Linked DNA regions of Homo sapiens: regions 1, 2, 4, 5 and 6 are each linked to region 3. Evidence: promoter capture Hi-C in 16 types of primary human blood cells and fetal thymus (Javierre and others, 2016). All regions are on one chromosome and are shown on one strand. Each heading gives the region's core, a stretch centred on a gene start or on the middle of the fragment in contact. The rest is flanking DNA. Distances are from core to core; before and after follow the strand shown. Region 1 holds the start of TMEM106C (transmembrane protein 106C). Region 2 holds the start of BCDIN3D (BCDIN3 domain containing RNA methyltransferase). Region 3 holds the start of DDX23 (DEAD-box helicase 23). Region 4 holds the start of FMNL3 (formin like 3). Region 5 holds the start of CCDC184 (coiled-coil domain containing 184). Region 6 holds the start of MCRS1 (microspherule protein 1).

What was found. Contacts are between HindIII fragments. The CHiCAGO score rates a contact against its expected background, and 5 or more counts as called.
Region 1: a contact is called between the fragment with the promoter of TMEM106C here and the fragment with the promoter of DDX23 in region 3, in 4 of 17 cell types (fetal thymus, neutrophils, M1 macrophages and 1 more). The highest score is 9.4, in fetal thymus.
Region 2: a contact is called between the fragment with the promoter of BCDIN3D here and the fragment with the promoter of DDX23 in region 3, in 8 of 17 cell types (neutrophils, total B cells, fetal thymus and 5 more). The highest score is 13.5, in neutrophils.
Region 4: a contact is called between the fragment with the promoter of FMNL3 here and the fragment with the promoter of DDX23 in region 3, in 9 of 17 cell types (neutrophils, naive CD8 T cells, naive B cells and 6 more). The highest score is 10.9, in neutrophils.
Region 5: the fragment with the promoter of CCDC184 here is called in contact with the fragment with the promoter of DDX23 in region 3 in 5 of 17 cell types (neutrophils, fetal thymus, naive CD8 T cells and 2 more); the score reaches 11.6 in neutrophils.
Region 6: a contact is called between the fragment with the promoter of MCRS1 here and the fragment with the promoter of DDX23 in region 3, in 10 of 17 cell types (neutrophils, naive CD8 T cells, fetal thymus and 7 more). The highest score is 13.8, in neutrophils.

What each region holds. Positions count from the first base shown.
Region 1 is chr12:47,962,201-47,967,067 of GRCh38, reverse strand. It overlaps TMEM106C (transmembrane protein 106C), which reads right to left and starts at 3,472. Exons shown (of 8, transcript NM_001143842.2): 1 at 3,364-3,472; 2 at 2,645-2,859; 3 at 1,723-1,786; 4 at 1,071-1,230; 5 at 839-979; 6 at 336-385. The coding sequence starts at 2,831. The HindIII fragment of the contact is 3,638 bases long and covers 2,101-4,867 here.
Region 2 is chr12:49,841,149-49,846,251 of GRCh38, reverse strand. BCDIN3D (BCDIN3 domain containing RNA methyltransferase) reads left to right here and starts at 3,146. Exons shown (of 2, transcript NM_181708.3): 1 at 3,146-3,398. The coding sequence starts at 3,165. BCDIN3D-AS1 (BCDIN3D antisense RNA 1) reads right to left here. Exons shown (of 3, transcript NR_027501.1): 3 at 5,098-5,103. RefSeq lists enhancers at 2,804-2,863, 3,434-3,803. The HindIII fragment of the contact is 7,812 bases long and covers 1-5,103 here.
Region 3 is chr12:48,849,314-48,854,080 of GRCh38, reverse strand. DDX23 (DEAD-box helicase 23) reads left to right here and starts at 1,918. Exons shown (of 17, transcript NM_004818.3): 1 at 1,918-1,997. LOC105369755 (a long non-coding RNA gene) reads right to left here and starts at 2,360. Exons shown (of 2, transcript XR_944925.3): 1 at 2,267-2,360; 2 at 1,532-2,031. RefSeq lists enhancers at 784-993, 1,873-2,062. The HindIII fragment of the contact is 5,632 bases long and covers 105-4,767 here.
Region 4 is chr12:49,704,809-49,709,330 of GRCh38, reverse strand. FMNL3 (formin like 3) reads left to right here and starts at 1,926. Exons shown (of 26, transcript NM_175736.5): 1 at 1,926-2,276. The coding sequence starts at 2,151. It overlaps LOC124902929 (a long non-coding RNA gene), which reads right to left and starts at 1,605. Exons shown (of 3, transcript XR_007063299.1): 1 at 1,492-1,605. It also overlaps the pseudogene COX5BP5. RefSeq lists an enhancer at 1,343-1,492 and a silencer at 1,513-2,282. The HindIII fragment of the contact is 3,771 bases long and covers 1,294-4,522 here.
Region 5 is chr12:48,180,880-48,185,695 of GRCh38, reverse strand. CCDC184 (coiled-coil domain containing 184) reads right to left here and starts at 2,052. Exons shown (of 1, transcript NM_001013635.4): 1 at 1-2,052. The coding sequence starts at 1,573. The coding sequence ends at 989. The HindIII fragment of the contact is 3,853 bases long and covers 457-4,309 here.
Region 6 is chr12:49,566,732-49,571,257 of GRCh38, reverse strand. MCRS1 (microspherule protein 1) reads left to right here and starts at 3,116. Exons shown (of 15, transcript NM_006337.5): 1 at 3,116-3,210; 2 at 4,417-4,526. RefSeq lists enhancers at 2,617-2,666, 3,017-3,820. The HindIII fragment of the contact is 9,561 bases long and covers 1-4,526 here.

The sequences.
Region 1 (4,867 bases), core at 2,223-4,722, 890 kb after region 3:
TCCCTGCCACTGTCATTTTCATCCTCCCACAGCGTCATACCACTTTCTGTTTTTTCAAACCCATCACATAAGTGCTGGAGCTTGGTAACGTTTTTAGTGGCTTAATGTTCTCTTTTAGAAATTCCAGCACTTCTGTCACATATCAAATAATACATTCTTCAAATACACACATAATAATAATACATTCTTCAAATAAATCTCAAGACATCCAAAGCCAGGGAACCTATAAGTCAAAAGCTGAGATCTAAGGCAGGACCAGGCCCCAATCAATGGAGTATGACTTTGAATCCCTTTCCTCCAGTAGAGAGCACACACAGAGAGAACAGTGTCCTTACTACACATAGGAAAACGGTCCTCCCATCTCGGCCTTCCCGGTAAAATTCACCTGAAAATAAGATACCAGAGTTGGTCTGTGGCCAAGCAGGCTTGACACAGAACAGTATTATTATTAGCAATCCAAAGACCTTGGGTCATTCTTCCATCACATGCAAAATACTTCCCTGAGATTGTCCCTAATATAGTCTATGAGCCTCTAATTGATACTGCCAACCTCTTCCCTTTTGAGAGGCCAATGGACCTCAGGCTGTAACACTGCTGCTTCTTATTTTGTAGCAAATCTTTGTCTCTTACAAATTATTCTGCTCCCCAAATGCTTAAATGATAGCTGTTTTTTCTCACAATTATTTATAATTACAGGGCCCAACAGGTCTTCCTCATCACCAGTTCCTACAAGTAGAAATGAGGAGACAAAAAGGAAAGTGACACAGCTATGGCATTCCTACAGCCCCCTACTCTTCTCTTAGGCCTGTGGGGCAAGATTCCTAAAAGAACAGCATACCAGTTGCTCACTCCGAGGTGGAATAAGGGAGACGTTAGTAGTCACATATGTACTGACCACTGTGTTCATGTACTGAATCTGGCTGGACAGGCTGGTCACTGCCACCGTGTAGAAGTTGGAGTTCCTGATTTTCAGGGTGGCCTACATCAGGGCAAGTCAGGAAACAAGTGTAAGTGTCCTGGGTCCCAGCCTGGCAGGTGCACAACCCAGGGAATGAAACCCTAAGGCTTACCATGATGGTGAGAATTACAAGGGAGTCTTGCTTATTAAATGTGACTTTCACCACTTTGATGCCGTCATCATCCACAAGGACTGAATGCGGAAACAGGAAGAAAACCACCAAACCAGATGCCAGGAGACAAAGCAGGATGGACAGGAGGACATATTGCTTACTGCAAATGACACAGCACATGACCGACCCAGGCAGTCAGATATCAAGGTTCAATGTGTCAAGATTAAACACAAAACCAGGAAAGAGAAGGGAGCTGAAAGGGAAGTTCCAAGAGCCAGGAACCATAAACCAGTTAAGAAGCAGTGAAGCAGGAGAAACCTTTTAAAACTCCTTTAAACACTGTTTGCACTCTGGGAAGAAAAGCTGAAGAAAGGAGCTATGTGGACAGAGACAGTCCCACACCTCCCAGAACACTCCACTTTCCCAGTTTCTTCTGATTCCATTCCTTGACCTTCAAAGCATTTCCAGCTTCAAGTTTCTTTCCCCAGATTGTGATGGGGGCAGAGATATCTTGCTTGGGCAAACAGTTATAAGGAAAATGGGGAACTTATAAGAACATGTGTAGTTTTCAAAGAATTAACTGGCATTCATACATACAGAAAGAGATTAGGGACAGAAGTAGGTATTAACAGGTGAGAAGCAGGTAACTCACGTTCGCTGAGGGCGCAATCTCTGATCACTGTGTGGGATCAAAGCCACCAACTCATTTACTTGCTCTAGAAAAGAGCCAAACAATTATTTTGTAAATCCCATGTGTTGGCAGTACTTCCTTCACGTCTCACTTGAGCCTGCCACAACAAATATTCTTCTGGAATGAGACATTTTAAAAAATACTAGTGAAATTCACATGTTGGGTCTAATGAACAAGAAACAAGAGAGTGCCACAAATTATAAAACATCTATCAGTGCTGCCAGGGTAGTGATGTGGAAGTTGAAAAACCTGGGATCCTGTTCTGGCTTTACTGCATGGGCTTGGCAGAGTCGTCGAATCTCTCAAGGCCATGGTTTCCTTGCCTTTCATATGGAAGCTTTGGAGTAAATGATTTTGAAGGTCCTAACCAGCTCTAAATTTCTGTGACTCTCCAGCTAAACTGTTAAAGACTTTCTGAGGGCCAATTTGTTAATAGTAATAGATGATCCTGTACCAAGGCTAAGTATTTGTCTCTCTCTCTTGACCTGATATATTTTTCTGACCTTAGGCTGTTAAGGATTAGCTACCCATTTCCTTGAAAAGCAGCTTCCAAGATGGTTCCCCCGCAAAGCTGTCCCAATCCTTGTGACAGCGATAAAGAAATGTGCCTGTCAACAAATCCCACAACACAGAGCGAACTGAATGTTCCAAACCTCAGGAAAAGAACAAGAGTGGCGGTAAAGAAAAGAAAGGGTTGGAAAAATAAGGAGAGGAAGAGAAGTTGCAGAACTGCCCAAGTGTATTAAGTCAGTTGAGCTGGCTCCTGTCCAGGGCACTGTCTCTATTATGGTATTACTGCCTAGAAGAAAAGTTGTCTGGGCAGACAGGAGAACTCCGAGGGTACCTTGGGATTCTCATCAGGGAATCATCCCTCCATGATCACCTGTTGGAATGTAGCCTGTCCCCTGGCACGTGAGACAGGTGATGCTATCTCTCCCGGTGAATTCCACATATGGGAACTGAGCAATGGCTTCTTCCTGCTCTCGTTCAGCCAGCAAACCGTCCCTGTCATCTTCTTGCTTTCGCCTGCAGGAGGAGGGGCGAGCAGCAGCGGAATGCTGAGACCCCATGGCCGTGATATGCCACTGGTGTCATGTCCTAAGATGAAAAGAGGGAGTGCACGTTAGCGGCCCCAGTGAATCACGACAGAAATCGCTTGTTTCTATAAGAAAATTAAAAACGCAAAAATGACAAGTTGCCGCCCTGAGTGTGGTCCCAACACCTGTACGATTTCTATCGGGACCCTCATTTTGTAGTAGTGCTACCCACTCTCCTCTTACCCGCCACACACAGCCGGCGGGGGTGGGGAGGGGGAACGGGGCCTGCCTTTCACGCACCTGCCTCGATCCTCACCGCCCTGGGACTTGGGGCACCCCCGCTCCCACCTGGTCCAGCCTCGCCCCTTCCTCTTCACTATTTGTAAGCTCTATGCCCCTCCTCGAGCAACAAACAGGCACCAAATTGATAACCGGCCTTAACGATTCCCATTCCTCTCCACCCCCCAGCCCCAGGAGGCGGGCTCAGGTCACGCCCCTTGGCAAAAAGCGATGCTCTGAGCCCACCAAAGTGGCCCAGGCAGGAGCGAACGCCAGCGTCGCAGACCTGCAGGGCACGAACTCCCGGCAGCTCCTCTCCGGCCGCTCCCCCGACCACCTGCCAGCTTGAGGACTTACCAGCCTCTTCGGTCGGCGGAGCGGCACGCACTCAGCGCGCAGGCGCCAAATACCAAGCCCGCCAGGAGAACGCGGGCGCGCGCTCGCGCGTGCGCTCTTCGCGGCTCCGGAGGCCTTCCCAATATCGCAGCTGTCTGGCTCCCTCGGTTCCGGTAGAGGGCGGCAGAGAGCGCCGGGGAGCCGCGACCCTTGCTGTTGGGCCGCGGTAGTCCGCGGAGTCGGGATGATGCTCTGCTGTTCGCTAGATAGGCTGGGAAAGGCTCCAGTCAAGTTTCCAGAGCAAAACACTTCTCTGCTGCGAGAGGAGGAAGGTGCTGCCGGCTACCGAAGCCATTCTGAAATATTCTTTATAGTACAGGAGCTGTGTAGTCGCTGAGGGTACACACATGCGGAGCATTCGGATAAACTGCCTTTGCAAAAATTGTAAGTGAGAAAATTATGACAGTGAAAGAGATCTGACTTACCCAGTTCCGTCTTGCTTCTAACCTCCGAACTGCCCTTGTTCATTCCTGGGTATAGGCCAAACTAACTTTGGGAGGAATTTAGTTTATAGTTGAACTTCGAAGCAAAGATAACAGCCCTTCCCCAAAACAAACCCCCTTCTTGCCTGGGGACCAGACTGCCTTTGTAAGACTAACAAATTAGCCACAAGATTAGAAATTATGGTTTAGGAGTCATCCAGACAGAGGTCACAAGATTCCAAACCTTCCCTATTGCTCCAAGGGATAACATCACTATTGTAAAATCTAAGATCGGTGCTGGGGATATTTTTCAGACCCTGCATTCTGAGGCACCAGCTGGCAGTACCTAGACCAGTTATCTGGCTCAGCCAGTTCTGCAATCCCACCCAGGAACAGAAAACAGCAAGAAGAACCCACTTAGACCCCCCTATGATTTCATCTCCAACCTGACCAATCAGCACTCCCCACTGCCTGATACCTACCAGCCGAATTATCCTTAAAAAACCCCAGTCTCTGAATTATCGGGGAGACTTATTTGAGTGATAAAACTCTGGTATCTCATTCAGCCGGCTCTGCATGAATTAAAATCTCCATTGCAATTCCCCTGTCTTGATGAATCAGCTCTGGGCAACGGGCAAGGAGAACCCGTCCGGCAATTATATCAGAACCTGTCTTCAGTCCAGGAGGGGAACCCAGAGGCTTCATCAGACCCCTCCAATACTGTAGATAAAAGTGCTGCTGGAAGTCTCACAAGTCAGAGGGGCCCAGCCTGGGGGAAACCTTCCATGGGGAGTCCTGCTGGCTTCTCGCAGGAACGGACCCCACAGCTGAGCTTTGCAAGCCAATTAGGTGCCAAGAGGCACCAAGGAGTAGATTCATTCGGTAGTAGGGCCCCCCCTTCCCCAGACCTCCACAAAAAAGGCACGTACGTAAGAGGTTAGAAAGCACTTTTCGTTCGTTTGTTTGTTTGTT
Region 2 (5,103 bases), core at 1,897-4,396, 990 kb before region 3:
TTCTTTTATTTCTTGATGGGAATTGTACAATACACAATTTATCAGAATCCCTATGTTTAAATTCCTTTGCTGACTTGACACAAATTACTGCTATCAATGCAGATGATAAAAATTTTATAATGCATCATTCATAATAAGGTTTTCAACGACAAATTGGCTAATGAATACAGTCCATTTGAAGAGTAGATCTAAGATTATTTCTTGCACAAGAAAATTTGAAATGCTCTGAAATCTTCCAGCTAATAAATGAAAGAAATTTAATCAAAGTTCTCCCCCAATTTGATAACAAACCAAAAAATTTACATGACATTGCCAATAACAACTTGTGAACTTGAAAGAAACTTTTATAACTGCCACAAATAATAAAAGACAAATTTGATCCACCAGGCTAAGAAAAGACTGAATTACCTTCCTGGTCTCTCTCTAAAATGATATTATCAAGTGATTGTCATGTGAAGAAGCAATCAAAGAGTATGCAGCCAAAAATGTAAGAAAAAAAGTAATATTCAAGTGTGACTAGCATTTAATCAATCAAACTATTATAGAATTTTTTTTTTTTTTTTGAGACGGAGTCTTGCTGTCGCCCAGGCTAGAGTGCAGTGGCACGATCTCGGCTCACTGCAGGCTCCGCCCCCTGGGGTTCACGCCATTCTCTTGCCTCAGCCTCCCGAGTAGCTGGGACTACAGGCGACCGCCACCTCGCCCGGCTAATTTTTTGTATTTTTAGTAGAGAGGGGTTTCACCGTGTTAGCCAGGATGGTCTCGATCTCCTGACCTCGTGATCCGCCCGCCTCGGCCTCCCAAAGTGCTGGGATTACAGGTGTGAGCCACCACACCAAGCCTATAGAAAATTTGTTGTGATGCTTTTAGTAGTCAGCTTTTCAAAATTTGTAATTTGTTGTGATTTCTCATTATAAATAAATATTCACTTTTATACCTGTCTTTATATTTGTAAGTTGGTGGGAGTTTTTTCCTTAAAGAGGGCGCCCCTTCTTCCCCTTTCCCTTGAAATTATATATGCATCTCACTCCATAAAACCTGGCTGACCAAAGTGCAGAGCGAGCTCTTAGGTGCTGCTACAGCTATTTAAGGTGCTGGGGCTGGTATTGTCAAGTATTGTCAAGACACCTGTGCTGTTCAGGCTCTGAAAAGTGGTCATAGGTTAGAAAAGTTACCAGAGTGGATCAAATTAAAACACCTCTTTATGAGGTCACCTGTCAGGCATTTTAGATTACCAGTAATGTTACGAGGGCCTATCTTTGCTTCTGGAGGAACCCCAGGGTCAGGAGTTCTTGCCATTCACTGTCCTGGAAGCAAGGTGATTCCAGCTCCTTGAAAATTGTTAATTATTTGTGCTAGCTTCATCTAGTGACAAAAAGAGGTAAGTTCAGCTCAGCTCACCAAAATTTGTCAAAACGGTGCAGCTTTTTCTCCTTTTCTGTAATTGTGCAGAATACTGTGGTTTACTAAATTCCAGAGTGACTTTTATTAACTTGTGTCCTCAAATAAGTGAAACTAGAGAAACAGCAGGCCAGATAGAGATGAAAATATAAAGGCTGGGCGTGGTGGCTCTCGCCTGTAATCCCAACACTTTGGGAGGCCGAGGTGGGCAGATCACGAGGTCAGGAGTTCGAGACCAGCCTGGCCAACATAGTGAAACCCCGTCTCTACTAAAAAATACAAAAACTTAGCCAGGAATGGTGGCGGGTGCCTGTAATTCCAGCTACTTGGGAGGCTGAGGCAGGAGAATCACTTGAACCTGGGAGGCAAAGGTTGCAGTGAGCCGAGATCATGTCATTGCACTCCAGCCCAGGCAATAGTGTGAGACTCTATCTCAAAAAAAGGAGAAAAGAAAAAGAAAATATAAAGTAAAAACTGAGAGGAAAACAGCGCTTATTTTAACTCCTGATGGTACTGTTTGCAGGAGTCATGCTCCAGTGCCTTATAAGAAGTTTACCGAACTGCCAGCCTCATGGAGCAGGATACCCCTTTAAGATGGGTGGGCCAGGTGCAGGGGTGGGGTTGGGGGTCCTGCACAACTCTGCTGATGCTTGGTTGACCCTGACGGATATTCTGGGCCATCCTGGCTTTTGACTGGAACCTGCTACCTAGGTTGACCCTTCAGTTCCTCTCCTTATCAGCTCTGTTATTTCCAATCTCTGAGTCACATCTTGCCCAACTCCATTCCACTATGTCTGCTTCAGTTGGCATCCTTTCTCCCTTCCATTTAAAGTTTCCCCAAACAGATCTGGCCTTATTGTATTCTCTATTGAGTTTTCATTCAACAACATTTGTTGAGCATCTTTGTGCCAGGCCCATGTTAAGTATAGGAGACTCAAGGCTGAGAATAACACACCGTTGCAAGCACATCCTCTGGATCCAAACTCCCTGGGTTCGAATCCTAGTACCATCATTTCTAACTGTGGGATCTTGGACAAGTTACTTTGTTTTACTCCAGTGTCCTCATCTATATAAAAAGAATAATAATACGGTCATTTTCTCACGGGGTGAGAGGATTGACTAAGGAGCTTACAAGGGTGTCTGGTGCCTGGTAAGCACTCTTTAAGTGCTGGCTCTTAAGGCACGGTCCTTGCCTCTCAAGGAGCTCATGGTCTACAGTTGCCCCTGGGGGACAGGGCTGAGTCGGCTGGCTTCGCAAGTGACCTGCACCTCCTGGCTACCCTTTCCTGAACCGGGTGGAAGTTTTTGAGTCACAGATTCAATGTATGACCCCAGACAAGTAAGTTCTCTCGGTCTCACTTTTTGCATTTATAAAGAAAGGAAATTGGACTAAAATTGATTTCCAAGATCCCAACAAACTAGTATACTTGTTCTGGGTCAAGTAGCCCAAGTTTCAAACTATGTCAGCTTGGCCAAGACACTTAGCCCTCAGAGTTTGTTTCATCCCTGTAAAACGTGGATGATATTGCTAATCCCCTCCCAGTGTTGTGATGAGGGTTCAATAATACAAGGCAAGCCCCAGGCGCTCGCCGGCTCCAGGTATACAGCGAGAGGAAATCAGGACAGCTTTTCTGATTCACCGCAGAATTCTAGCCACCCGCCCTAGCCGTTCGACGCACGCGCGCTGGCACCGCCACCGCCCACGCCGACAGCAGGTTCCCGGCTTCCGGTTCCGCCACGGCCCAGAGGCTGTGTTGAGGCTAATGGCGGTGCCCACGGAACTGGATGGAGGGAGTGTTAAGGAGACCGCAGCGGAAGAGGAATCGCGAGTTCTGGCACCTGGCGCCGCCCCGTTCGGAAATTTTCCTCATTATTCTCGCTTCCACCCTCCGGAGCAACGGCTCCGCCTCCTGCCCCCGGAGCTGCTTCGACAGCTCTTTCCTGAGAGTCCCGAGAACGGGCCGATTCTGGGGCTCGACGTGGGGTGTAACTCCGGGGTGAGTGACAGGGGAGGGATTGGAGCATCCGGAGCCAAGTGGTTGGCTGCCTACACATCCACTGTGGTTCTGGCCTGGGCTAACACCCATCGAAACTTTCCCAAAACGAGTATAAAGCGTGGCTTTGACTGAGCCAGTGCCGCTGCTGCCTGCCCGCCAGGGTTCCACCATCTGTCTTAGGAATCTCTCTTGGAGAGGAGTCCTTGTCGACTACGTTCCCACTTTTCTTTCAGGGCCAGACCCCAGGTGGGAACGGTCCTTGTATCTAGGGTGGCCTCTGTCCAGCGTGCCTGGCGCTTTGGCTGGGGAGAGGGGGCTTCCAGAGACACACGTTTGGGAACATGGGGTTAGGTTTGGTTTACTGGGAGAGAAGAGCCAAGGGTGACAGAATCATGCCTGATATTGAGACTCATGTGTGCTATACAGTGCAGGACAGACCCTGGGACCTGCATGTTTATTTCAAAAAAAGTGAGTAGGCCGGGCGCGCTGGCTCACGCCTGTAATCCCAGCACTTTCGGAGGCCGAGGCGGGTGGATCACAAGGTCACGAGATCGAGACCATCCTGGCTAACACGGTGAAACCCCGTCTCTACTAAAAATACAAAAAATTAGCCGGTCGTGGTGGCGGGCGCCTGTAGTCCAGCTACTCCGGAGGCTGAGGCAGGAGAATGGCGTGAACCCGGGAGGCGGAGCTTGCAGTGAGCCGAGCTAGTGCCACTGCACTCCAGCCTGGGCGACAGAGCGAGACTCCGTCTCAAAAACAAAACAAAACAGTGAGTTGACAGAGTACAGTGGAGAGGATCGAGAAGCAAATAAAGCATTTTGCCCAAGGGAATGGAGAAGGGCGGCACTGCCACTCTTCTTGCTGCAAACTATTCTTAGGCATATGATTATAATCAAACCACATGCAAAATAAGGAAATGTCTCTCCCACACCTATTTGTAGCCACTGGGATATTCTACACTAGCAGGCAGTCTGAACTTACCACGGCAAATGCTTCAAAAGTTAGTACCCTCTCTGCGCTCCCTCCATCACTCCAGTCCAGCATCTGGAGGGCGGGGGACAATTCTGTTACGTTGCTGTCCTTTTACAGAAGAGACTTTGGGGGACGACTTCAGACCTTGTGGGACTCAGATGATAGTAGGAAGGGGACATTTGGATACAGTCTCAAAGACTGGAATGAGGAGATGGGTTGATGTCCTGTGTCCCCTGCAAAATTTCTCCGCTGTGATGATACGGGAAGTCAGAGGGTAAAAACAATGGAAAAGAGAGACTGAGGTTAAGGCTTGGGATTTCACGAAAGGCATTAGGAAACCACCAGAGATTTTAAAGTTGAGAGTAGTATACACATGAGAGGTAAAGACATAGTTGGCAGCTAACTAGGGTAGTGGTTCCCAAACCTGGCTGTACGTTTATGGAGCTTTCTGTTTTGCAGTTTTTAAAAAATGCTTTTTCTTGTGGATCTTTGTAGTCAGGAAAGGGAAAAAAAATGCTTGCGCTTGATAAAACAAAAAAATTCAAACTACAAAGGGGTATATACTAAAAAGTAAGTCTCTACTCCCAACCCTAAATCCTCCTTTTCCCCCACACAGTGGCACTACTGTTTATAATTTCTTAGGTATCAGTCTTGTGTGTATACCAGCATTTACGTACATATAAGTACCCCCCTTTTAGTTTTACAAATGGTAACACACTATTAGTAGCTT
Region 3 (4,767 bases), core at 669-3,168:
GCAAGACAAATAACAAGTATCCTTGAAGCCCAATGTCTTACATGTGTCATGAGATGTGCGCACAAGTACTAGAGGAACTCTGCCACTATGAACTGGGACAAGCTTTATCACCCTCCAGGAGCTCAATTTAAAGAGAGTTGAGATGGCAGCCTGAAAATGGGGAAAGGTAATGGACTCTGAAGTTAAATGAACCTGAATTTTGGCTCCATTCTTTTCTTTTCTTTTTTCTTTCTTTCTTTTTTTTTTTTTTCCAGTCAGGGTTTTGCTCTGTCACCCAGGCTGTAGTGCAGTGGCACGAGCATGGCTCACTGCGACCTCGACCTCCTGGGCTCAAGCAGTCCTCCTGTCTTGGCCTCCCAAAGTGCTGAGATACAAGCATGAGCCACCTCACCTGGCCCATTCTTTTAACTATGTGGCCTTTGAAGGCATAATTACTCTTTCTGGGCCACAATCTCCTTACCAGTAAAATGGAGATAGCACTCATCTCATACTGCTATGAGAACTAAGTAAAACAAATAAGGTAGGTTAAGTGTCCAGCCCAGAGCTGAGCACTTAGAAGATTCTCAATAAAAAGTGGCTGCAGTTTTTGAAGATTCTGGCCTACCATGGTTGGTCTGATTCTTAGTTTAATCTGTGAATCTGTGAGTCGAGCGCCCTCTCGTGCTTTTGTGGTGAATTACACCTAACAGATCTCAGAGCTCTCTTCTTTCCCTTGCGTTCTCTCTGGAGTAGAAGCTGGGAGGTGAAAGGCTGCAGGTTCTAAGAGAAGTGTGTGTCTCCGAGGGTTACTTTGGGCCATTGTACGTGATGCTCAGGGCTTTAGGATTACTTGGGTCTATCCTGAGGCTCTGCTTGAGAGCTTGGGCATATTCAGAGAGAAAAGGCAGACCTACAGCCATGTGGAATTGAAGCAACAAACCTGCTGCTGGCAAAATGGGAAGGGAGGTCCGAGATACTTCTGGTTATCTAAACCGTTTCCGCAACTGCAATGTTTTGTTTTGTTTTGAGGGAAAGAGTTATGAACCCATAAGACCAAAGAGAAACACAAAGTGAACTTACGATTTGAGGTTAAAACAACAACAACAACATCAACAACAACAACAACAGCAACAACAAAACTCAGTGGAAGACTGAAGTAGGGGAATCTGGGGGAAGAAAGAAGCAAAAATACCAAGATAGCTCAACAATTGGTCACATTCCAAAGGGCAAGAAATTGAGGAAACCAGGGTTCCATCTGGAATGTTGAGAAAACAGGTGCTAGAGCCCAGGAGATACCATCCTTCCGGGAGGACTTTAGAGCCCATTGTGTGGGCTCATTTGGAGCTGTAACAATAACTGGGGGTTGTTATGGCATTCACCCGGCTGCAGGGGCCAAGGTTGCTAAAACGTCCTCCTAAGCCTGGGATAGTTCCACACACAATGGAGAACTGCATCACCCTCCTTGTGAACCTACTCCGGTAACCTGATCTTTAGTTTGTCCAACTGTAAAATGGGGCTAGCCCCATTCTCACAGAATTATTATAAAAACCGCTTTTCCACGAATGGTATTTATTGTTACTGCGGTTGTTAGCTATAATTACGTACTACAGATATCTCAGGAAGCCCTTAAATTCCTCCACTGTAAGCCACGGGCAAGGACAGTCATAGACCGTAGTTTCTAGGAAGACCAGCCGATTCCAAGAAGGGTGCTCGGCGGGAGAACCTAATGCCGAAAGCCTATTGGCGAAAAACTCTTCCTTCCCGGACGCTAACGTCTGGCAAACCACATTGCCCGGCAGACCCCGCAGCCTGGGGCCGGCGCTCAAGTCATGCATTCTGGGATTGGTAGTTTCCAGGCCTCAGTGTCGGCCTGTGCCGCCCAGCTCCAGGAACTCGCCTTCCCAGCTTGCCTCGCGGCCGGGGGGGTGGGGGGTGTTCATCTCCGCGACCAGGAAACGGGAAAGATGGCGACGGCTCCGCGACGTTGAGGCCGCGTTGGGCGGTTCAGACTCAGGGTGGTGAGTCCCGGGCGGTGGAGGCGGTTCCCACGAGCTTACAGAAAGGGCTAGAGTCAGGGCACGGCGGTGGCCCCTGCCTCCTGGATGAGGCGGGAAAGAACGCCTCAGAGAAGGGGCATGAACCCGGGAAGCTCGGGCGGGCTGGAGTGAAGGGGCGCGGGCCCCAGGGGTAGTGTTGGCTCCTCCGGGCACAGGCCACGTCCCTGCACGATATTTTCCTCCCAGGACTCTGCCTATGGGCACAGCGCCTCTGATACCCCCAGTCTGACCTTATTCTTTCATGCTTAAAGTAGCCTTTGGTGCAGCCAAACTGGAACTCTGGCTTTTCTCTCGCAGTCAGTCCATGTTTTCCCGCCTCTGCGCCGGCCGTATTATTTCTTTTGCCGGGAATGACTTCTTTTCCGCGTCCTTAATTACATATCTTAAAATTCTACTTATACTTAAAAGCTCAAGCGTCACTTCCTCTTCCAAGCCTTCCACATCACCTTTTACAAGTGAAAGGAAACGCCTTTGAACACCTGTATTACTACATCTGAGCCTTGATACTCTTCTTGGTATGTGTCTCATACCCCCTATTGTTCTTTTTTTTCTTTTCTTTTCTTTTTTTTTTTGAGACGGAGTCTCGCTCTGTCGCCTAGGCTGGAGTGCAATGGCACGATCTTGGTTCTCTGCAACCTCCGCCTCCCGGGTTCAAGCGATTCTCCTGTCTCAGCCTCCCGAGTAGCTGTGATTACAGGCGCACGCCGCCACGCCCGGCTAATTTTTTGTATTTTTAGTAGAGACGGGGTTTCACCGTGTTCCCCAGGCTGGTCTCGAACTCCTGAGCTCAGGCAATCCACCTGTCTCGGCCTCTTAAAGTGTTAGGATTACATGCGTGAGCCACCGCGTCCGACCTCATAACCCTGTTGTTCTAAACACTTCCTGTGAACAGAATTTATTTTTGTAACTCACATAGCACCTAGCACTGTGCCTTGCGTACAGTAGATGCTTGTTAAATACGTCATTGAGTGAAAAAAAAGAATGTGCCCCTGCCCTGCAAGAACTGAGGACCTGAAGATCTGGAGGTTTGAGAGGAAGGCTGCTGGGAAGCATGGCCAGAGTCAGCCTGGTTATTTGGCCCTTGTGATAATAGAACCTGTAATAAAAGTTGCCTGTATTTACTGTCTTCTTCTCATTTTTCATTCTCTTCCAAACTCATTCCACTCAGGCTTCCATTCCCGCAATGCAACTGAAACAGCTCTTGTCAAGGTCACCAATAATCTCCATTTTTCCAAATTCAGTGGTTACTTCCCTGTCCCTTATTCCCTCTCCACTTCGGTGGTACTTGACACAGTTGACCCCTCCCTCCTTGAAACATGTTTTTGGCTTCTTCGTTGCCATGCTTTTCTTTGTCTTTTCTCACTGGCTGCTAGTTCTTTTCAGTCTTTTTCTCTGGTTCATCCCGTGGCTAACTCCTGTTAAAGTGTTCCAGAGCTCAATTCTGGAGCTTCTTCTCTATTTTTTTTCTTTCACTATGCTGCCTACTTAGGTAATATCATTTAGTGTCCCATGGCTTTAAAAGCTATCTGTGTATTGGTGACTCAAGTTTTTGTCTACAGACCCTCTCCCCTAAGTTCAGATTTGCATTTCTCTTTGCCTTCTGGGAATCTCCACAGATATTCTCACACTCAACCTGGCCAAAATGAAACGTTTGATTTCCTCTTAAATCTGTTCGTTCCCTAGTCTTCTCCAGTTTGTTTGCTATGGCACCACAAACTATTAGGTTGCTGAAACTATAAATTTAGGAGCTATCTTTGTGTCTGCTCTTTCTGCTTCTTCCTTAGTAAGTCCTGTTAGCTTTGCCTCCAAAATATACTCTGACGCTGCCTACTTCTTTCCATCTCCATCGCCACGTTCCTAGAACAAGCCACTGCCATCTCTTGCCTAGAGTACCATAATAGCACTCTCAGTGGTTGTGTTTTCACTCTGTCTCTCTGCTATATATTTTCTTGCAAGTCACCAAAGTATTAGATTGCTTCCTGTTTAAAGCTCTTCTAAGATCCCCATTGCAGTTAAAATCCAAGTTAACTCTACTCTGACCTGTAACACATTTTCATTATCTGACTCCTGCCCAGCTCACTGAACTCATCCTGAATCAGTATTCCTCCTGCATTAGTGCTTCCCAGGGTCAAGAAGTCTTTCCACCTCAGCCTGGGCTCAGGTGATCCTCCCCAGGCAGGAGCGAAGGGGCATGGGCCCCATAGGTAGTATTGGCTCCTGGGGGCACAAGCCGTGTTCCTGGACGATATTTTCCTCCCAGGCCTCTGCCTATGAGCTCTTGAGCACTTTTGAGCTCAGGCATTCCACCCACCCTAGCCTCCCAAAGTGCTAGGATTACAAGTGTGAACCACCACACCTGGCTGATTTTTTTTTTTTTTTCTCTCGAGACAGAGGGAGTCTTGCTCTGTCACCCAGGCTAGTGCAGTGGCACTATCTCGGCTCACAACAACCCGCACCTCCTGGGTTCAAGCAGTTCTGCCTCAGCCTTCCGAGTATCTGGGATTACAGATGCCTGACATCACGCCTGGCTAATTTTTGTATTTTTAGTAGAGACGGGGTTTCACCCTGTTGGCCAGGCTGGTCTCGAACTCCTGACCTCATGATCTGCCTATCTCAGCCTCCCAAAGTGCTGGGATTACAGGCGTGAGCCACTGCTCCTGGCCTCCGGCTGATTTTTAACTGTTTATAAATGTAAAATTTTATTGTTCAAAATAGACGGGAAGTCTTGCTA
Region 4 (4,522 bases), core at 677-3,176, 860 kb before region 3:
ATCACTGGGTCTCGCCTTTGTGCAGCCAGAACCAGTTGACAGCACTGTTGTCCTCTTCACCGATGCAGCTCACTATTATCTTGGTGATGGAGGGAGCTGTTAGGGTCTTCCCTGGTGCCTGAAGCTGCCTTTGGGGGTAATATATTGTATGGGTCCAATCTCATACATGGCTGTCATGAACTCCCTCTCCAGCCCAGTCATCTGCTTGTCATCAGTAGGAACGCCACCTCCAGATGCCATGAAGCACACTGCAACCACCCCATTGGGACTGTAAGCCCTCAGGCCTATGCGGCTAGCGCTCCAGCTCTGAAAATTAACCTTGAAGCCATCATGCCTGTGACAAGCAACAGCTGTGTTTATTTATTTATTGAGACAGAGCCTCACCCTGTCACCCAGGCTAGAGTGGAGTGCCATGAACATGGCTCACTACAGCCTCAACCTCCTAGTTTCAATTGATCCTCCTGCCTCAGCCTCCCAAGTAAGCAACTCTATTTAAAATCTTAATGCCTCTTCCATCTCTATCACCTTTCAGTTTTATTTTTATTAACACTGATCACTAACATCTATACATTTTACTCGTCTAGTTTATTGTCTACCTTTCCTTCTACACAGATTGTGAATTCCAAGAGGACACAATGTATATCCTGTTTGTTCGCAGATGTACCTTCAATGCCCAGAATAGTATCTGGCATAGAATAAACTTTCTAAAATAAATATTTGTTGAATAAATGAATTAAAAATCTAGGTGATAACTTCAGGCATGGTTAGATCCAGGTTCTTGGCATGTCATTAGAATTTTGTCCTGTCTCATAGCTTTTCTCTCCTCTGCGCTGGCTTCATTCTCAAGCAGGCTTGATGTGTTACAGGTGATGATAAGACGGCCACCAGCGGCTGCAGGTTTACATTCTAATAATTTTGCAGCCTAAATGGAGAGAGAGTGAGTGCCTCTTTCCTGATTGTTTCAGAGAAAGCCTTGGATATATCATATTGTCTGGGCTTGGGTCAAGTGACAATCCCTAAAACAGTGTCCATGGGTAGAGGAGGAAAATGTTGTGACTGACTGGGCCTGGGTCATGCGGTCCTTTGGAACTGGGGATAAAATTCAGCTCCATTTAGACTGAGAAGAGGGGAGAGGTGGTTTCCTAAAAGAAAAGGGGGTGCTCTCACTGGAAGAAGATGGCGGCTAGACAACAAATTTCCACCGCAAATGTCAACGACCCAGCCGCCGACTGAGCCCAGAACAGCGTTCTTCTCCCGCCTCTCCATTTTCACACGCAGCCAGATGGTTAAGCTTCTCTCCTCCCAAACGTTTTTTCCCCTGCCTCTGTCGGGTAAGGGCTTCCTCATCCCTCAATGCCTGGTCCAACTATGATCTCCCTCACCCCGACTCTTAACAGGTACTATCTCTCTCCCTCTTCTGAGTATCCTGCTTGTTTCTACTTCTCTTGTAGTTAGTTTTGTACGCCATGCCTTGTATAATATTTTACTTACTTGTATACATCATGAGTTCCTTTTGAAAAAGGGTACGGTCCATTCCCGGTGTGTCCACGCCAGCCCCTCACGCCCTCTGGGAACCGCGGTGATTCGATGCCGGCTGAGGCCGCCAGGGAGCGCTCGGCGCCCGGCACGAGGCCGTCAAGGGCGGGAGGCGCTGTGATTGGCAGACGCGGCCGTCAATCGGGCGCAGGTGGGGCGGGCCGGGCCGCCTGTGAGGCCTCTGGGCGGGAGGCGGGGCCTGCATGAATGGGGCGCGCGTCGCGCGGGCTGCAGTCGGCGCTCGCGGGGGAAGCCCGAGTCTCGGCCGGGTGTGGGTGGGAGGAAGCGAGGTTGGCGGGGGAAGGGAAAGAGCGCGGGGGGCGGGGAGGGGCAGCGCCCGGGCGGCGCGCCGAGCGCGGCGAGGCGGCGGGTGTGAGCAAGAGCCGGCCGCCTCCGTCCGCCTTGCTTCGGTGCGGCTGTCCGCTACGCTGCCTCCGCCCTCGCCGCGCGCCCCCGCCAGCGGGACTCCAGGGAACCCCCGGCGCCCTCGACGGGGCCGAGGAGTCGGGACTCGGGGAGCCGGCGCTGAGGGAGGAGCCTGGTCGGAGCCGCGGAGCCGAAAGCTCCGGAGCGTGGAGGTGGGGGGCCGAGGCCCCTGAGGGGGCCCCGCCGCGATGGGCAACCTGGAGAGCGCCGAGGGGGTCCCGGGAGAGCCCCCCTCTGTCCCGTTGTTGCTGCCGCCCGGCAAGATGCCGATGCCTGAGCCCTGTGAGCTGGAGGAAAGGTTCGCCCTGGTGCTGGTGAGAGCTGAGCCCAGCCCCTTCCCCCGCGTACCGCCCCTCAGGTCCCGACGCCCGGGCTGGGACTTTGTGCTGGGCCCCCGTCCCGCCCACCCTTTCAGTCGGGGTCCCGAACGGATCCCGGCCTCCAGTGTCTTCCCAGGAACCTCTGAGCAGCCGCTGGCCGGCCCGGACAGCCCCGTCGGGGATCTCGGGACCGACGCCTCCACCGCTGGACCCTTAGGAGAAGTCCCCAGTTCGGGACCGTCCTAGGAACCAGGCTTCTCCCTCCTTCTTCCTCCCCCTTCTGCTGCCCTTTTCCCGTTTCCCCGCTTCTTCGCCAGGCTCCCCGTCCCTAGCATTCTCAGCCCGGAGCCTCTCGCGGGTGGGGGGAATTCAGAAGCGCGGCCGGCTCGCTCCTCAGCAGGCTTCCCTGAGTGGGGACACCGCCTCTCCTGCGAACATGGAGGCTTCCCAGGGAGTGGGTCCCACTCCCAGCCCAGACCAGATGTTTGGGGGGAGAGGGGGATGGGGAGGCGGCTGGCAGCTCCTGAAGGGGGTGGAATAAAGAGTATGCCATTCTGCTTATTTTCAGAACGGCCTGCAGGCATCCTGCTAAGTTAGAGTGGATTTGCCTGAAAGGCTGAACATGTGGATAAACCATTTCACTGGGGTATTTCTCCAAGTGAAACAATACACAAACCATCCCGCCTCCTCCCCCCCTTTTCACGTTAAGCCATAGTGACTGGTTTGTGTTGTTTAGCCTGTGCTTTTTAGTCTTTCTGTGGGTTTCAAACGGTCTGTATAAATGGGTTTTTAGAGCTGACTTTGGGATTCTTCTTTGGTGTGGGAATTGGACATTGATGTCAGTGGCTCTATGAAGCGAGAGGTTCTGAGCTGGTATCACCGGGAAGGAGCCAGAAAATATGTTTGCGCTGAAAATGAAGTTTTGCAGAGCGAAAACATTGGTAAACCGGGGTTAATCTTTGAGAAATTTGGGGAAATAGTTCTCACTTCCCCAAAGAGTTTTCTAAGAAGCAGTAATAATTCTGGCGTTATTGTTGGTATGGCCGACTCTGCCTTTGCCTCTGCCCATCAGGAGGGATAAGTTGTGGACTTAGCAGCCTTATTGGATTTCATCTGCCTTGGAATAAGGAGATTAGATCTGTTGGCAACAGTGGAGCTGTCTAGAGATCTTGGCCTCTCCGATGGTAGAGAATCTGACATCAGCCCACTGGCACCAGAGCTGGCTCAAAGAGGGTCCACAGTGTTCCAAGGGGAAGTGGTGTCGCTGGCACCTCTCTGCCCGCCAGCTCTGCGAAGGGCCAAAGGGATGTGGGCCATACATCCTGTGGCCCTCTGCATTTCCCCCAGCCTCCTCGGGGGATCGGGTGAGTCAGTGATTACCAATGTGCTGTGACCATCTCACAGGCTGAGGAGGAGAGACTGGGACTTAGTGGCCTTGAGAACAAGAGCCCAACTGTTGGGGAAAAGAGTGGGAGGGGATCTGCACTCTGGTGGGGGTGTGAAAATCCCCAGCAAGCTGACACAAGTTAGCTATAGAAACTGGGGAGAAAGGGATGGGGTGAGGTGGATTGGGTGGGAGGCTGCCTTAGGTGGGAGCTGCCAGGCCATTTTTTGTGAGAGCTCAGAACCAGAATCCATCATGTTCTCATTGGCCCTTGGTTGACCATTTCGTTTAGTTAGCAAACTAATGGCTTAATATTCACAAAATGCACGTGATGTCCTAGTTAACCAGGACACCAGAGCACCAGGAGAACCCAGGTCAAATGGGGGACTGGACCACCCACTTGCATGCCTTCCTTTCTGTATAAAATTTTGATTTGTTTCCTCATGCCTTTTGTTTTGGTCTTGTTTCTGTGTGCCTGAGCTGCTGCTGATGAAGGGTTGGAACAGGGCAGGCCAGAGCTAGTTAGTTGTCTCAGGAGACGGGATTTCACCTCAGTTTTCCAATACAGGGAAATCATCCCTTCTTGGGGATTTGAGTTCTTCTCTGGGGGCTCTTAAGTGTCCCTGTGTCCACTGTTCTGAAAGGTACCCTTTCTACCATGCTTTGGGAACAGTACTGACTGAGTCAGGTGTTTGACCCAGGTACAGGCTTAGGGGTATTTCCTGAACAGTCAGGAGAAGCATAGTGTAGTAGAAAAATCAAGGACTCTGGCTTAGCAAGTATCTTAACTTCTCTGAGCCTAGACTTCTTCCTCATCTGTAAAATGGAGGTAATCCTGTTCTGGTGAGATTGTGAG
Region 5 (4,816 bases), core at 803-3,302, 670 kb after region 3:
TAACACCAGAGCCACAAGCCCTGCCCCTGAGGGCTCACACACTACTACACAAGTAGACACACATAACACACACAAGACATTATGAAGGCAACACCGAGAGGCAGTGGGCAAGGACATATTGACAGAAAAAGGAACTGAAGTTAAGCAGGTGTAGCCAGGAGAGACAGTTTTTGGCTGCGGCCCCAAGAGTCCCTCAAATGTCCCCTAAATCTGGGCTGCTGCTGAGCACCCCCGAGTCTCTGCCTGTGAACCGGGCTCTTTGTTCTCTAAGCCCCAGGGAGTGGAAAAGCAATCCCAGATGAAGTCAGTGACAAGGCAGGATCCGCTCTGCATGCAAAATCCTAGAGGTTGAGCTATTATGTCTTCATGCACATTCATAGCCAGCTCCTCCCAGCCCAGGGGCCCTTGGAACCCCATTCACCCAGATTCCTAGGGCTGCAGTTCCCTCCTCAAGCTTCCTTTACCAATCAGCAGCCGCAGAGATCTGTGAGGGGGAGAGGCTTCTGCAGAGCACTGAATATCTTGGATTTCAGCAGAAGGGTAAATTTCCTGTTGCCAGAACAAAATACCCCCAATTCCTTAATTTCCAGGTAAATTGTTAGAGATTATTTGCCATGGTCCTAGGTAAGTCCTTTTTCAGAATAGAAAAAGCAGAATTTTATTTACACAATTCACGGGTTCTCCTGTTGTCTGGGAAGGGGGAAAGGACAGGATAGGGATGGATGGGAGTCCAGAGATGGGCGCTTCCTCTCCCGGAGCCTCACCTTTCCGCAGTTCGCTATAATTCGCTTAGTTGGGCAGAAAGAATTCTCGATGCTCCCAAAGTCCTTCACCCTACAAATCCTTCCTCGAGGGAGTCTCTCTCTGCCTGACCCACAAGAGCAGCTGTCCAAGTGAAGCATGCCGCACCGCGCCGTTCAGTCCCCCTCGCGTCATGCACTCGGAAACCCAAAGACAGCCCGGGAAGGTAGTGCCCCACGGAGTCCCCTCACAGGGAGGCCTCGCCCTCCAGTTGCAGCAGGGTAATGTCGGGCATGTCGAGGGGCTCCACAAGTGGCCCGTCCCCCCCAAGGAGACCAGCACAGGGGCTTTCGGGGCGCTCACAGTGACTGGAGGGTGTGGCGGGGCTGGGCATCTCCTTCTCTTCTTCCTCTTCCTCCTCGTCCTCGGGATCGCGACCCAGCAAGCCGCTGTCCCCGATCCCAGGCGAAGGAGTCTCCGGCTCTTGGGGGTCGCTCTGGAAGCTCCCCTTGCCGCCGACCACGCCCAAGCCGCCCTGGCGGGGCGCAGTGGTCATAATCTGGCACATGGAGACGATGGCTCGCTGGTTGGCGCACACGTCGTCCGAGAGCACCTGGATGTGCGAGGCCTGCTCGTCCAGGGCCCCCCTCATGGCCCTCACGTCCTCAAACAGGGCTTGCAGCTGGGCTTTCAGGTGCTCCATCAGTTCCTTCATGCCGCCGTTGTACTCCCCGGAGATCACGTCCCCCACTGCCGGCACGGTGGACACCTCCAGGGGCGCCGGCATGTCGCCGCCGTCCTTGGTCATGATCTCCAGCAGACCGTCCTCCATTGAGTGGCAGAAGCGGGTGGCGGAGGCTCTGGGTCGCGTCCAGCCCGGCCTCCGGGGTGGGGGAGGGGGTGGAGGGGGAGAGGTCCCGGGAGGGGCTAGCGGGAGCCGAGGGAAGCGGAGGCTCCCGAGACTGGCGGGGAGCCGACGTGAGAGACGAGTCCTGGGCAGAGGGCGCAGGCAGGATCGCGGGAGGCCGAGAAGAGGCTGCGGGACGAGGACCCGGCGAGGGTCCCAGAGCCGGCGTCTCTTGGGATCGCCCCGGGACGAAAGTGCCCTGCCCTGCCTCGCCTCCCGGATCGCGCCCGTGTCAGCGCCGCCCTCTGGGCGCCACAAGCAGAGAGCGCCTGCCGGTTCCGTGGGTCACAGACGCGCTCGCGGAGGGGTCCGCGTCCAGGCTGAGGCCAGCGGCGCGTCGGACTCGGGACTCCCCCAGGCCATTACCGGGCAGCGCCCGCGAGTGTGGCAGCAGCAGCTGGGGTGGGTCTCCCGGGGGTGTCGCGGATGCTCCTCTGTTTCCAAGGCGACGCACGGCACGTAAATGACGTGTGTCTCCATGGTAACCAGGAAGTGGCGAAGAAAAAGGGAGGATGGCTGGAAGCTGCAGTGGGGCTCTGGAGTCTGGACTAGCGGGGTGGGGGGAGGAGAGGGGACGCTACAGTGGCTTCGGCCAAGGCTGGAAAGAGCGTGTGGTCGCAATGTTTAATAGGGAAGTATGAGAGAGCCGTCTGCTGCAGAAACCTCCAAGTCCGGGAGAGATCGTCCCTCCCCTAGCCGGGGTATGAGACCCAGCGAGACTGCCCTGGAAAGATTTTTCCAGCCCGCATTCCTTTCTCAGAGGATGGCGCTAAAGTCGAGTCCTGCCTCCCTGTCCTCCAGCGATGCGCAGGAAAGCGGAGAGGGTAGAGAGGCTGTTGCTAATGATCCCAGAGTTGAGCTGGGGCACGGTGGCGCTCTGGAGCCGGACCCACCGGGCCTGACGGTGCAGAGGCAGGAGGAGGGCGCTACGGAGGTTTCTGCAGTAAATCAGCCCTCTAGCTATAGAAATCACCGGAGCGGGGGAAGGATGGGACTCCCTCCTTTATGAGACCCTACCGCTCCTACGCAGGTCTCTGGGAGTTTGTCCCAGATGGGGAGGCCAAGTGCTTAAGTTTTGAGAATGAAAGCTCCATAAGGGGAGAGATTTTTGTCTCCCCTGCACCCTCCATCACGGAATCCCCAGCTCCTAAAATAGTGCCTGGCACCTAGTATGTAGATGCTTAATATAGTTATTGAATGAATAACAAAAACCACCAAGTCCCACGCTCTCATCCAGAACTCCCCAAGCCAAACGTAGTGGGTTTTAGGAGACCTGAATTCAGTTTCGTTTCTGCCACTTATTCATTCAGCGACCTTGGCCACATCATTTTCCTCATCTGTTAGGGAATTGGACTGGATAATCTATAATACTATTTCTAATTCTGAATAACAGTCTGCATCATCTCACAGGTGAAAAGGTAAACTGTTGACCGTTGTGTGGAGGGTATGGATGGGGGGACTGTGTGTTAGAGTAATTCCCGCTCTCTCTTTCAGTGCCCAAGTTCAGACATACACTGAGTATCCCCAACCTTTGTGACAAGCCCTTTCCCTATTTAAGGGGTGGAGCAGGAAGGGTGGAGGAAGAAGAAAAATTGTCTTTAATATACGTAGATGATTGCAGATTGAGAAGGAATCAGCACCTGGGCAGAGCACAATAATTAATAATGACCCTAGGAAATTAGGGAAGCCAAGTGATCGGAAGCCAAAAATGAAGTTCATAAGAATAAATCTGGGAAAGAGAAACAAACTATATCACTTCAAGATAGAGAAGAACTACGTAAAGGTGAGTGTTTTGTAGACTGGCGGTTCAGTGACAGCAAATGTGTTACCTTTGGGTTTCCCTGGTTATGTGCTTGGTGATGAAGAGTGAGGCTGGCCCAGGGAAAGTTTTGTGACACTAGAGGACTGCTTGACCTATACCAATCTTACTGCTTTTAAAATAGAAACAAGTGGGGACTATCCTAAATGACCAGCAGCAGAATGTTTAAATAAACTAAGGCAAAATTGCTGATACATAAAGTATTATGCAGCCATTAAAAATTTGATTTCCCAAAACAAATATATGAACAAATTTTAAAAACACAGTATTGTATTTTCTGAAACTAATGATTCAATTCTATTTGCTTGCTCATTTCTTCCTTCATTCTACAGATTTCCAGCACTCTCACCTTGCTTAGGACTCCTACCTCTGCTCTGTACCCCACACGTGGTAATAACACCTTAGATTACTCCTGAAACTCTGGCTCAAGAGAGGACAGAAATGCTTTTCCTTGGTTTCCATAAGCACAGCTGAAGTGGGCTGGTGTTTACAAAGAGACTTTATTAAAAACTATAGGAAAACTAGAAATAGAAACAGAACACATGAAAACAGCTGAGCTTACACAGCATAAGTTTCTGATTATACTACAGCAAGCATGTTCTCAGGGCTTATAGGTCCAACCCTGCTTTCATCCTTCCGAGGAGAGCTCTGCTATAGCCAGAAAAGACTGGCATGGCTTTCAGACTTTCTGTCTAGGTCTGTTACTTTACATCTCTTGACAAGCACTTCACATGGAAGATTTCATCTTGCCAATTCACCCTTCAGGTATATCCCTACCTTCTACCTACAAAGAGTGACTCTGTCCCAGTGGGGGACCTCTCATTGTTGAAATCCCATAAGCTTACACTAAGCATAGCCCCCATACAGGAGGAGCTATGGTATGTCATCATACAAGGCCTTTTGCCACTATTCTTGAGGATGTGAAGGCTTTCAGCATAAGATTACATCATGCTGTCCAGAGGTGCTGGCCATGAAGTCCACTGAGAGTACAAGGGATCTGAGCCCAGAGGGAGGGGAAATTATTGGAGAAGCACAAAAGGCCATGGGAAACATGTGCAGAGATCAAGCAGTTTGGCTGGTCCAGTCAAGTTCCAGGTCAAACATTTGAGAGCCAAGGGTAGGTGGGAACTGGGGGAGTGGACCAGTAGCAGGATTTGAAAATATAGGAAGGTGGCTGGGTGCGGTGGCTCATGCCTGTAATCCCAGCATTGTGGGAGGCTGAGGTGGGTGGATCACTTAAGATCAGTAGTTTGAGATCAGCCTGGTCAACATGGTGAAGCCCTGTCTGTACTAAAAACACAAAAATTAGCTGGGCATGGTGGTGGGCACCTGTAATCCCAGCTACTCCA
Region 6 (4,526 bases), core at 1,867-4,366, 720 kb before region 3:
AATCCATCAGCAACTCCTTGGGGTTCTATTTCCAAAATGTGCCACAGTCACAGTTCCTGTCCATCTTCACCACCCCCACATGCCAGCTAAACCACCTGGGTTTACCTCTCACCTAGATCACTGCAATACCCTTTTACCTGATCTTTCTGCTTCCTCTTTTGCCCCCTGCAATCTAGTCTTCACAAGCAGCCAGAGGGATCATTTTCAAACTTAGATCATATCACAGGATGCCCTTGCTTGTGATCCTTTAAGAGCTTTGCAATGAACCAAGAATAAAGGCCAAAATCCATACTGAGAACTACACGGGCTGGCATGGGCTGCCCTCTGATGACTCCTCTGTTCTCAACTCTTTCCCTCTTTTTATTGATCGCCCTGCTCCAGCCACACCGGGGTCCTTCCTGTTCCTCAAACTCACCAAACTCCTTCCTGCTTTGGAGCCAGAGCTATCCCCTCTGATGGGGTCGGTGTACCCCACCTTATTGTATGACTGGTTGCCTATCGACATCAAATCTCAGCTCAGTCATCACCTCTTCATAGAAGACCATCCTGAGAACTTTCATCTAGTATAGATACTATACTATATATACTAACTATAGCTAGTATAGTCCACCACGCTGTGTAAACAGAAAACACAATCTTGAGCAGGAAGCTGCCCTTTAGAAATCCCTGCATCCATACCACAAGGGTGCCTAGGTTTCTTTTTATCCAATAGTAGGGAGGATTGAGGACCAGAGGGGAAGTTTGAGTTTCCAGGTACCAAACAGGAGATGATGGTGACCACCACCTTTCCCTCGTGACACCTTGGGGGAAGGAATTACCTCAGGCAGCTGGAAGCCAAGAGTTTTCCTTTCTCCTCTTTCACTCAGGAAGTTGTGGCTCAGTGCAGTGGCTTACGCCTGTAATCCAGCACTTTGGGAGGCTGAGGCGGGTGGATTATTTGAGGCCAGGAGTTCGAGACGAGCCTGGCCAACATGGCGAAACCCCGTCTCTACTAAAAATACAAAAATAAGCCAGGCAGGTGGCAGGCACCTGTAATTTCAGCTACTTGTGAGGCTGAGGCAGGACAATCACTTGAACCCAGGAGGTGGAGGTTGCAGTGAGCCGAGATTGTGCCACTGTACTCCAGCCTGGGTGACAGAGCGAGACTCTGCCTCAAAATCAATCAATCAATAAAAAGAAGTTGTGTAGAACCTATTTTTTTTTTCATTGTAAAATATGGCCGGGCGCAGTGGCTCACACCTGTAATCCCAGCACTTTGGGAGGCTGAGGTGCGTGAATCATTTGAGGTCAGGAGTTTGAGACCATCCTGGTCAACATAGTGAAACCCCATCTCTACTAAAAACACAAAAATTATCCAGGCATGGTGGCGCACACCTGCAATCCCAGCTACTCAGGAGGCTGAGGCATGAGAATCGCTTGAACCCGGGAGGTGTAGGTTGCAGGAGCCGAGATCGCTCCACTGCACTCCAGCCTGGGTGACAGAGGAAGGCTCTGTCTCAAAAAAAATAAAACAAAATTTAAAAACCATGTATTAAAAAACTGGAAAATAATTAGAGAGAAGAATTACTACTACTACCACTTGGACATGTGTTAACATTCTGGTGCATTTCCTTCAACTGTCTTTTCCTTTGTATGTTTTTAATAGTTATCATGAATTCATATATATTTAATAACATTAATATTATTAATGTTCTGTGTAATCACTTTTTATAAAAATTATTTCAGGCCGGGTGCTGTGGCTCATGCCTGTAATCCCAGCACTTTGGGAGGCCGAGGCAGCCTGATCATGAGATCAGGAGTTCAAGACCAGCCTGGCCAACATGGTGAAAACCTGTCTCTACAAAAAAAAAAAAAAAAAAACTTAGCTGGGCATGGTGGCACGTGCCTGTAATCCTAGCTACTCGGGAGGCTGAGGCAGGAGAATTGCCTGAACCGAGACCCGGGGGCCGGAGGTTGCAGTGAGCCGAGATTGTGCCACTGCACTCCAGCCTGGGCTATGGAGCGGGACTCTGTCTCAAAAAAAAAAAATTTCATTGGTTTTCTGATATTTTCACAAGTTTACATAATATATTTAATCAAGTGCCTGTTAAAAAATAAAACACACACTCTTTCATGGGAGTTAAAATAAGTACATACTCATTAAACAAGTCCACAGAACAGTAAATGAGGTTGGTACTCTCGAAGCAGAGGGCCATAGTATACCGTCAGGGCCAAAAGGGCCAGTCTCTCATTTGACACTTGAATTCCCTAGCAATGTCCATGTTATGTGTTCTTGACACCTCTGATGGACAGCTTTGGAACTGAATCTTTCTTATTCTGAGCTGAAGTATGTCTCTCTATAGCTGCTAGACTTTAGTACCTCGCAAAGGAAGCATAAAACAGAATTCCTCTTTTAGACAACAGTCTTTCTAGTTTTCCGGAACATCTCTCACAGCCCCAAATTCCCAATTTTTCCGACAGGTTCGTTCTCCCACCCCAAGATTCCTTCCAAGGCACTCTCCTCTGAAGGTGCTTCCATTGGTTTTCTCTCTTACCTCCCGGCGACCACAAGTGGCCCCAGCCGTCCAGGTGGGGTCCGGCTGACGGGACCAAGTCGACACTACTCCTTCTCGCAGGGTCTCTTCCTTCTCAGTAAAGCGGCCCACGATCCTCCATCCGCTCCTCAGAGAGCCTCTCTGCCCTTTCTGTCCGCCACATCTCCCTGGCTACATTATCTCCCCGACTAGTGCCTAGCAGGCGGGCCTGATAGAAGTTTCTCTAAAGGCTCTGGAGGAGTCAAACAATGCATAAGGTCCTGTGCAACCCTCAGACTCCTATACCTCGTGGGAATTTGGAAGTCGAAATCCAGTCCGCGGTCCCGCCCCTCCCCGGGTCGCCTCAATTAGCCCCGCTCGGTCTCGCCCTAAGTCTCGCCTTTCCCTTTAACCAACCCCTCAAGCCGGGTTACCTCTCCGGTGCCTATAATCCTTAACGTTTCCCTATATGCTGTCCCAACTAGGAAAGCCTTTACTTTCCGCTATTGGTAAAATATTTACACTTTCCGTACCATGGCCACGCCCCCTTCACACACGTTGCCAAGACGAACCGGAAGAGATTGCCAGCCCCCTGGTTCGTTAACCGGAAGTAGACGTACCTCACGGAAGCCGGCTTTGGCCCTGCGGCTGCTACCGTCGCCGCGGAGAAATTGTTGGATCTGGCAGTCTAGGAATGGTGAGACCTCGCGGTTCGCCTCTGAGGGTTCTCAGAGGAGTTGGGGATGAAATGGAGTTTTGCAGAGTGCCGCCGGGGACGACCACCCCCCAAGTTTGGGGCCCCGCCCCAGTGGCGCCCCGAAAAGCTGCGCATGCGTGGGCCGGACCGGGTTAGAATCTGGCTCGAAGTGTTACGCATGCGCAAAGGCATGGAGACCGTGGGGTGAGAATGGGCTTGCGAGTTTACCCCCACCTCCCCAGCCACCAGCCTGTGGGTCTCAAACCAAGGCTACTTGGTGCTCTGCTTTGAGTTGCAGAGGTGACTTCATCAATGCTCCTACCCCGAGTTCTTGAGACAGACCTGGACCGATCCCCTACCTTGGGTGTGCACTCTTGGGAGAACGAGGGGCGGAGGGTCCGGTAAGGAAGGGGCACAGACCCTACCTCAGTTTGCCGGCAAGCTCGGGCCCCTTCGCCCTCTCCTCAGATGTCAAGATTCTTAGTCGTAGCCTATGGAGCGGAGAGCGACAGGCTCACCTGGGGACAGGGCTAGAACACTGAGCTAAGAGCCACCCTGGTTAGAAGTGGGGACTCACGAGAGGAGCGCCCCGAGAAAGTCCAGTACCTGGGTTCTCTAGGGGTTGTTGGGGCACAGCGTGGTTGATAATCACGCAGTTCCCAAACAGTGGTTTTTGGTTTCCACGAGATGGTATCTCATGGAAATACCACTTACTAAATCTTCAGTAAAAACCCCAAATGGAAAAGAAAAACAAAAAAAAAACGAGATGGACTGGTTGGAGTTTTGTCTCCCTTTCTTTTTTCCTGCTTTGGCCTGGGAGGGGAAGGCTGGTGCTGCTGAGCTGAGTGGACAGCTGAAGTAAAGAAAAATGTGGGCCAAAGAATCCCTTGTCTCTTGCTAGTTTATAGTCAAGGCGCTTAACCTAGGAGATACCAGTAGAATTAAAGGGTCTATGAACCCTCTAAAATAGTATGTGTTTGCACCCTTTTCTGCAGTCCATAGCTGTTATCATACTCTGAAAGGTGCCAGTGACCTTCACAAGACTGATGTCTAAGGCTATTATTGGCAGAGTGGGGCCTTATGCCTCTTTCCTGTCCTTATGTCTTCCCTAGCTTATGGGACCCTGGGGGACCTGAGCCAGTATAAGGAAGTGAGGCTGGCCAGTTGGAAATCTGAGCCTCAGGGAGCCTCATTTCTCCTTTGCAGAATCTCCTCTCAGCCTTTAAGCTCACCTGGTCAGAATCCTTGGATGAGCCTGTGGGACCGTTCCTCCTAGCCCGGTGGTTTGGAACCAGTGGCTTTGGGACTGTAAGAGG